2 separate regions of the Homo sapiens genome follow, and region 2 is linked to region 1. Evidence: promoter capture Hi-C in human tissues and cell types (Jung and others, 2019). All regions are on one chromosome and are shown on one strand. Each heading gives the region's core, a stretch centred on a gene start or on the middle of the fragment in contact. The rest is flanking DNA. Distances are from core to core; before and after follow the strand shown. Region 1 holds the start of GALNT5 (polypeptide N-acetylgalactosaminyltransferase 5). Region 2 overlaps PKP4 (plakophilin 4).

Evidence for each region. Contacts are between HindIII fragments. The study calls those that stand out against the background at their distance.
Region 2: a contact is called between a fragment that was not itself captured here and the fragment with the promoter of GALNT5 in region 1, in 1 of the 25 tissues and cell types used here (IMR-90 fibroblasts).

What each region holds. Positions count from the first base shown.
Region 1 is chr2:157,255,915-157,260,323 of GRCh38, forward strand. GALNT5 (polypeptide N-acetylgalactosaminyltransferase 5) reads left to right here and starts at 1,791. Exons shown (of 10, transcript NM_014568.3): 1 at 1,791-3,622. The coding sequence starts at 2,169. The HindIII fragment of the contact is 4,009 bases long and covers 1-3,490 here.
Region 2 is chr2:158,649,136-158,653,783 of GRCh38, forward strand. All of the region lies in intron 11 of PKP4 (plakophilin 4), which reads left to right. Among named protein-coding and RNA genes, the nearest start is that of PKP4-AS1, 84 kb to the right of the region's middle. The HindIII fragment of the contact is 5,340 bases long and covers 584-4,648 here.

The DNA of each region.
Region 1 (4,409 bases), core at 541-3,040:
GTTGCAGTTTATTACAGGAATTGGCTCATGTGGTTATGGAGACTGAGAAACCTCAGTCCAGGCCACCTGCAAGCTGGAGAACCAGGAAAGCCAGTAACATGGCACATTCTGAGTCCAAAGGCCTGAGAACCAGGGAAGCCAATAACATCACTCTCAGTCTGAGGTCAAAAGCCTGAGAACCTAGTGAGGGATGTGGAGGTTGTGGGGGCAGACTGGTACAAGCCCCAGAGGCCAAAGCCAGAGAATCTAAAGTTCTAGTCCAAAGGCAGAAGAAGAAAGATGTCCCAGCTCACTAACAGAGACAGAATCCACCTTTCCTCTGCCTTTTTTTCTATCTGGGCCCTCAACCAATTAGTGGTGCCTGCCCACATTGGGTGAGGGCATCTCCTCCCCACTCAGTGCACTGAGTCAAATGCCAATCTCTTCTGGAAACACCCTCACAGATATACCTAAAAATAATGCTTTACTGGTTCTCTGGGTGTTCCTTAGCCCAGTCAAGTAGACACCTAAAATTAAATGTCTCATAGGCAATGTTCAAAAACCAAAAACAAACAAACAAAAAATTGAGACTTTTTTTCTAGACCAGTGTTTCTCAACTTTAGCTGCACATTTGAAAGACCTGGGAAGCTTTGTAAAAAAAAAAAAAAAAAAAAAAATATATATATATATATATATATATATATATATATATATATATATTTAATACAATATCAGCCCAAATGTCATCTCCACCTCCTCTCTCATCAATTGACCAGAGTTTTGGGGATCTTGTTTCAAGTGGTTCTAATGAAAAGCCTGTGGCGGAACTGCTACCCTACCAGTCAACCAGCATCACTCAAAATCTGGTCCAAGTCCTGGTGTGGTCCTGAAACTGTTGCTTGCTGGTTTAAGACGAGATAAGTACTGAAACTGAGAGTAAGTGTATCTTAATCTGTTCAGGCTACTATAGAAGAATAACATAGACTAAGTGACTCATAAACAACAGAAACTTATTTCTCACAGTTCTAGAGACTGAGAAGTCAGAAATCAAGGCACCAGCAGATTCGTTGACTGGTGAAGGCCCATTTCCTGGTTCATAGATGGCACCTTCTCATTATGTCTTCACTTTGTGGAATGGCAAGGCAATAGGGCCTCTTTTTTAAGGGTGCTGATCCCATTCATGAGGGCTCTATCCTTATAATGAAATCACCTTCAAAAGCCCTACCTCCTAATACTATCACATTTATGATTAGGTTTCAACATATGAATTTTGGGTGGACATAAACATTCAGACCATAACAAAGTGTTTAGAAACTTTTATAGCAGTATGACAAATTAAGTTTATTTGTAATCAAATGTAATAATAAAAACAGATGGATTAGTGAAAAAAAAATAGTTGGCTTACAAAGAAATACATTGAAACCCCTTGAATGAATGATCTAAATAATTAAACATATACATCTCTGGAAGTGAGGATATACCAGGCCCCTTCTTTAAGCTGTTATGTCTTAAAGCTGAAATGTTAACTTCAGTGATAAATTCCTCAGGCAGAGCATTGGCACCTGGCTACAACAGGGTTAATGAGCAGGAGTAGGGTAGGTGGGGTCACAAACCAGGAACACATGCCCTCCAAGTTAGATAGCTTTTTTTCCTCTTTAATTGCCGTTTAAACACACATGCTCTCACATAACACAGAAGGTGAGAGCTGAATGAAGTTTTCTGGGTAATGGCATGAAATGTTTTCCTTATGAGAAGTGGTGTTGAGTTACAGCGTGCAGACGGAGAACGGGGAGGAGAGAAACGGCAGTCTCAATCTGGCCCCCACCTTTTCTTGGGCTTGTAGGAAGGTGGACATGGGCTCCCGGAGACAAGACAAGTGATATGTTGAACTGTTCGGTGGCTGGAATCAACTGCTCCTGGAGTGACCTAAGGCCAGTGTTTATCAGAACTTAGCCAGGGCCAGCCAAGCAGGCACAGATGCTCTGCTATGAAATGCCACGCAGGCAGAGACTGACAAGCGGTAGGAACTGAGCTTTCCCCTTGGACTGCTGCTTCCTGCTGTGTTCAGGGGAGGGGGTCACTTTCTGGCAACTCTGCTGCTGCTGCTGCTGCTGCTGCTACTTCAGCTTCCTCTCCACTCAAGGTAAGCAGGCTAAGGGAGGGCAGGCTGCTAGGGAAAGCTTTGTACCATGAACAGGATCCGAAAGTTTTTCCGAGGAAGTGGGCGAGTCTTGGCATTTATCTTTGTAGCTTCTGTCATCTGGCTCCTCTTTGACATGGCAGCTCTCCGCCTCTCATTCAGTGAGATCAACACTCGGGTCATCAAGGAAGACATTGTGAGGAGGGAGCGGATAGGATTCAGAGTTCAGCCAGACCAAGGAAAAATTTTTTACAGCAGCATAAAAGAGATGAAACCTCCCCTAAGGGGACATGGGAAAGGGGCATGGGGCAAAGAGAATGTTAGAAAAACTGAGGAGAGTGTGCTCAAGGTTGAGGTGGACTTGGACCAAACCCAGAGGGAAAGAAAAATGCAGAATGCCCTGGGAAGGGGCAAGGTTGTGCCGTTGTGGCATCCTGCACATCTGCAGACCCTCCCTGTGACTCCTAACAAGCAGAAGACAGACGGGAGAGGCACCAAACCTGAAGCCTCCTCTCACCAGGGGACACCAAAGCAAACGACAGCTCAGGGGGCTCCAAAGACCTCATTCATAGCAGCAAAAGGAACTCAGGTAGTCAAAATATCAGTACACATGGGACGTGTCAGTTTAAAACAGGAGCCCCGGAAGAGTCATAGTCCCAGCAGTGACACATCAAAACTAGCAGCTGAAAGGGACTTGAATGTGACCATCAGTCTTAGTACTGATAGACCAAAGCAGCGATCACAGGCAGTAGCAAACGAGAGGGCACACCCTGCCAGCACAGCAGTGCCGAAGTCTGGGGAAGCCATGGCCTTAAACAAAACTAAGACTCAGAGCAAAGAAGTCAATGCAAATAAACACAAAGCCAATACGAGTCTTCCTTTTCCTAAGTTCACTGTCAATTCAAATCGCTTAAGGAAGCAATCTATTAATGAGACACCTTTGGGAAGTTTGTCAAAGGATGATGGAGCTAGAGGGGCTCATGGGAAGAAACTCAATTTCTCTGAAAGCCATCTTGTGATTATAACCAAAGAGGAAGAGCAAAAGGCAGACCCCAAAGAGGTCTCTAATTCTAAAACCAAAACAATATTTCCTAAAGTATTGGGTAAAAGCCAAAGTAAACACATTTCCAGGAATAGAAGTGAGATGTCTTCCTCTTCACTTGCTCCACATAGAGTGCCACTGTCCCAAACTAACCATGCTTTAACTGGAGGGCTAGAGCCAGCAAAAATCAACATAACTGCCAAAGCCCCCTCTACAGAATACAACCAGAGTCATATAAAAGCCCTTTTACCTGAAGACAGTGGAACGCACCAGGTGTTAAGAATTGATGTGACACTTTCTCCAAGGGACCCCAAAGCTCCAGGGCAGTTTGGGCGTCCTGTAGTTGTCCCCCATGGAAAGGAGAAGGAGGCAGAAAGAAGATGGAAAGAAGGAAACTTCAATGTCTACCTTAGCGATTTGATCCCAGTGGATAGAGCCATTGAAGACACCAGACCTGCTGGGTAAGACCTATTTCTCTTCTCTTTCCTCAACCCCAAGTGCTTTGGCTGTTATGTAAAGAGGATTTATTGCTAGATAATTCTGTGTGATTTTTGGTCACCTAGAGAATTAAAGAAACATTAATCATTGGATATCATTCAAATATTTCACCAGCTACAGAGACAAAAATTCTCTTATTAGCAGTTGCAGAGTTCTTGTTCTCTGAGACTTTGGTCCCTACCATTAGCTCATGTTCAATTTTCTTCCCTCTGTTGAAAACCTATTAAAATGATTAGATGAACTCAGTTCATAATAACGTGTATATAAATGGTAGAGCTTAAAGTGTAATTCCATTAGAATAGTGACAATGAAGTGAATTCCCAATTTTGGAACTTTTCATTATTAGCAAGTTTGTCAGGAATATATTTGGGAAAGAAGCACACAGAAGGACTCTTCTAGGCCTCCCTGGAATCATATCTTAACCAGCAGAATTCTGCCTAATCATAAGTAATGATAAGCAGGATAGCAAGAGAAGTGACTTTACTCCCTAAAATTTAATCTCCTTTATAGGTGGAGATGGTAGATATTTCAGGAGATCAGTTACATAGGAATCATAATGTTGGAAAAAGTCAATCAGTCCATGACCAGCAAACACCTACAGGAGGTATAAAAAGCATAATAATAATCACTTATATTTGTAGACATTCACTATTTACAAAGAGCCTGCATACACATAGATGAACTCCATATGAGCCCTGCAAAGGAGGAGGCAGTCATTATGGTTCAAATTAACAAGCTGGCGAGGGCGCT
Region 2 (4,648 bases), core at 2,004-4,503, 1.4 Mb after region 1:
AATTCTCAATTGGTAGAGAACTTTGAACTGGAAAGAACCCTAAAGAAATCTCCTGTCTACCCCTGTTATTACAGATTAGAAACCGAAGTCCAGGAAGGTTGAGCAGGCAAGTCTCCAGGCTGAGTTCCTGATGTCCAGGCTGGAGGTGTTTCTTCCCTGACCCTTCCCCTGCCTACCCTGGCCACTGAGAAGGGCTGAACAGGAGCTAAATCTGGAGGGTACAAATGTTATTTCCCTTGTTCTTTAAGATTACCACCAAAAAGGGAAAAGAAAAAAAGCCCCACAATAAACTACTCTCTGAATTTTACCCAGGACCATAGAGAAATATCCCTGAATTTCACCACTAGCACTATAATATCAAACTAGTGATCAAGTATAATCATAAAGCTTCAGTTTGCTTAGGAAGTCTATGAAACGTGATTTTAGGTCTTGCGTCTATTTCAAGATTTATAGTTTTGAGTATGAAAAGATTCAACCCTCTAAGTGGAATATGACCCTGTATTTTGAGTGTAGGCTTCCGAGTGCCAAGCACAAGGAGGCAGTCAAGTAGGGAGTCTCAGAAGGTCACTTATAAGACTTGGGTATTCAAACATCAGTCAGAGTGGAACTTCTCAGCAAAAGAGAGGCCCTGTAATAACATGCTCCCTCAGTTGACTAGACGTCCTACAAATGCAAGAAAGGTGGGAATATGGAGACCCCAGGCCAGGTCCTGCAAATGCTTTGCAGTTTCTGAGTATGATGCTCTATAGCTTGCAGCTGGAGGCACCTTTGTCTCTAAGCTTCTGCCAGCACCAGACAACTGGGTTGAAGATCTAGTGCAGTTACAGATGAGCAAGTGTGTTCCTGGAACATGTAGGTCAGCTGTGGAGTATATGACTTCAGTGACAGTTTCTTGGGCAAATCTCTATGATAGTGTAACTGTGACAGTATAAATGACCTAATTCTGTGTCACACTGAAATAACCTGCAGAACAAGGGTGGCCAGGGCCGCTGCCCCCACTGCCGTTTCTGCCCCAGAAGGATTCTCTAATTTCCTTTCATGTGACCTGTTCCCTTTTATTAGCTCTGCTTCAACAGAAGGAGCCACTCTGTGTGTCCCATATGGGCAATTCTCAGTCAGCATTTCTGAATTGTAAGCTTATTTATTTTCTGTAGAAATGCCTTTCCAGGGAACATAGAACTGTATAACTACATTATGTCATTAATCCTCAAAACATATCCAAGAAGTGGTAAAATTACCTAGAATAAAGAAGAATACATTAAAATGCAAATATGATTCTGTAAATGGATCTCTAAAAGTTGGTAGATCTTTTCAAAGGTGCTGTGATCCACCTTTATGCCTGCAAAATCGCAGAGACTCGGGCTAACCCTTATATTCTCTAAAGGCACTAAAGATCTATCTTGTCCCAACTGGGGACAAATTTCAGCAGCAGGAATGGTCACCTTCAACTGGAATATGCAGGCTGGGGCCCCTGTGTGCAGCCTCTGTGACCAGCCCAGTTCCTTACTTCCACACAGCTCCCTCCTAGGAAGCATCTTGCCCTCAGACCACCTGAGCACCCACTTCCCACTGCGCTGAAAGCTGAGATGGTGGTGTTCCGAGCACAGCTGGACCTGAGTGAGCTCCCCCGTGCCCCATGAGGATTATGCATCTGCTGTGCAGGAAATCCCAGAGAACACAGGGGTGAGCAAGGCAGGCCTGTCCACCACCTGCAGTGCTCTGTGCCAGGCAGCAGGGAGTGCAGCAACTGGCCTCTCATGCTTTGGGGCAGGAAGGAGAAAGCCTCAAGCCACACCTATAGACCAGGAGCCTCACTGCATGGAGGGGTCACTGCACAGGTTTCAGGAACTCTGCTCAGATAGTGGCATCTTAGAAACTCTGGGAATGGCTATATACCACCACAACTTGTTTTCCTCAGCATTTATCCAGAGAAAGGTATTTTTCTATAACTGAGGATAGTAGTTTTATCCCTGTCTCGTAATTGTTTTCCCACTATTTCAGTTTCACTTAGATTTCGTAATTTGTTGACAGCCTTCAGCCCTGTTAGAAAGCTTGGGCAATTGATTAGCCCAGCAGACAGTTTTATGGCACTGATTCTCCCCACCACCCCCTTGACTTCCTCATTTCTGTTAACAGTGCCATATTTTCACACGTATTCAAACTCCTGGCTTACCTGTGACACCACCCTCAGTTTGCATCTGGCTCCAAATTCTCACTACAGGCACTTCCCTTCCCTTTTGGCCTCCTCCCTCCTCCATCCTGTCCTGTGAAATAGGCTCTGCCCCTCCTAGCCCATTGGCCTCACCCCCTCCCTGGGATAACACCTGTGCCTGCAGTTCAGGTTTTCCCACCTGCCTGTCCAAATCAGTAGCTTCTGTGACCTCCTGCCAGCCAGCTCCAGCATGTGCCGTCACCTCTTCTGCTTCTTTCCCAGGCTATATATAGTTGGCCTGAAGAGCTCTGCACCCCAAACCTGCTTCTTTCTGGCCTCTGTCCTTGACACTGCAACTCAAATGTGGTCTCCCATCCTCCTGTCAAACACAAGTTCACACACTTTGAAAAACATCCAAGGAGAAGCGGCATGGTCTCGAGTGAGTGTGAGCTTTGGAGCCAGGTTGACTTGTTTCCTTCCAGCTCTGTGGCTCCAGACACATCACCACTGTCAAACCCCAGTGTCCCCGGCAATGACACATTACCTGCTGCTTGGTGTTTTTGTGATGATGTGTGTTGAGCTCCTGGCACACAGGATATTCAAGCCATACCTGTTGCTCTTCCTGCCCTTTGTCACAACTGCCTGGTGGTGTAACTGTTTGTGGTAAGGCCCCCCTGAGAACAGATGGCTCCCCTGTGTGTCTCCCTCGGAGTCTGGCATGAAGCAAGCAAGCATCTCTGCCAGCGCTGTTCAATAGGAGAATAATATGAGCTGCATATTTTCTACATTTTCTAGCAGCCATGGGAAATCTATTTTAGTAATGTATTTTATTTGGCCTAATAGTTTCAAAGTATTTCAACTTCTAAGAAATATAAAAATTATTAATATTTTGTGTTCACTTCTTCGTACCAAGTCTTCATAATCTGTTTTTTACTCAACAGTGCATCTCAGTTTGGACTAGCCATATTTCAAGTAGCCACATGTGGCTGATGGCCACCGTATGGGGCAGCACAGGTCTATACTGCATTTGGGTAGAGGTAACGTAAATGTCAAAGGTATGAGGTGTGTAACTTTAAGGCTGGCGGGAGGCCATATTGTAGCAGGATGTAGGTGCCATAGCATCTTGGCATTACTCTCGTCCCAAGAAAAAGCCGCAGAAGTTTATAAAAACCCATTGGGCTAAGGGGAGAACTTCAAGGGCAGCTGCATAGAGAAAGAAATGAAGATGTGTGTTTGCTAGATCCTGAGTGTTTCAGCCAGAGACTGTATAGGGAATGATAATGGAGGCATGTGCTAGGAGAAGCAGGCAAGGGCCGTGATACAATCTGCAGCCCTGATATTATTATGTTTGTGCTATTAATCTAATATTTCTACCCCCATTTTTCAAGAATGTTTGCAGGGTGGTTCCAGTGAGCCCATAGATGCAGAATAGCCAGGAGCTGGGGCAGGAGGTGGGGAGGATTACATAAGGAGCAGTGTTCCCCAGAGCTTCAACGGGAATGCACAGTCCTGTTAGCCACTGGTCATGACACTTGCTTTGTACTGGGAATGGAGTGGGGGTTGAGTGTGCACAAGACCTTAGCATCCATTATCTCCTTGATGGTTCCTCACACCCTGAGCCTGGGTAGTTTTACCTGCCTCCATCATGAACGTCTTGTGAAAGAGCACGACTAAAACCAGAGCACTCAGAGCGAGGTTCACTCAAGAAGGAAAATGCAGGGGCCTGTCCAGTGATGATGTTTGAAGCACACTGGCACCTTTATGGCTGTTGCTTTTTTGCTTTTGGCAATGTCTACAAACACTTGGGCTCTTTTTAATATAATTAGGAAACATGGCATAAATTGAATGCTGTCTAAAAATGAGTGGTTTAAGATTGTCTTTCATATCAAAAAGAAAAACAGTTGTATAGGCTGCCATGCATATCTGCCACCAGAGAAATCGCATTTTCCAAATGTTTTGTTTTTTTTAATATCCTTTAAGAAGTACATTTTTCAAATAGTTGCTATTATTTTAATTAATCAGTAAAATCAGCTTCTAATTTGACTATAAAATTATCAGTTCGCCATTAGAATAGCTATAAAGTTAGTTTTAAATGTGAGCTCTTTCAAAATTGTGCAGCATAGGATTTATGTGAAATGGTATTTTAATTACTTTATTCATTCTTTGTGAGGAAAATGAACTTTCATTTCTCATGGCAGTATTTCATTGTGATTATTGGTTACTCATAATTATATGTACTTGTTCCTGTGACAGGGAATAAGCAGCGTTTTCTACAATAATATGCATGAGACTCCCTAATATTTTCTAAATTAGTTTGTATGTTTATATTCTTAGTCCTCACAACAAATAGCTAATTGCTTTAAATTAAATAAAACCTCAAGCTTCCTCAACCAAATTCTAGTTTATTTTTAACTTTCCCTTTGAGAACCAGGAGATAATGGAGTATGGTGATAAATATTTTTGAAGCAAATTTTGCATTAGGATGTTGGAGTTAGA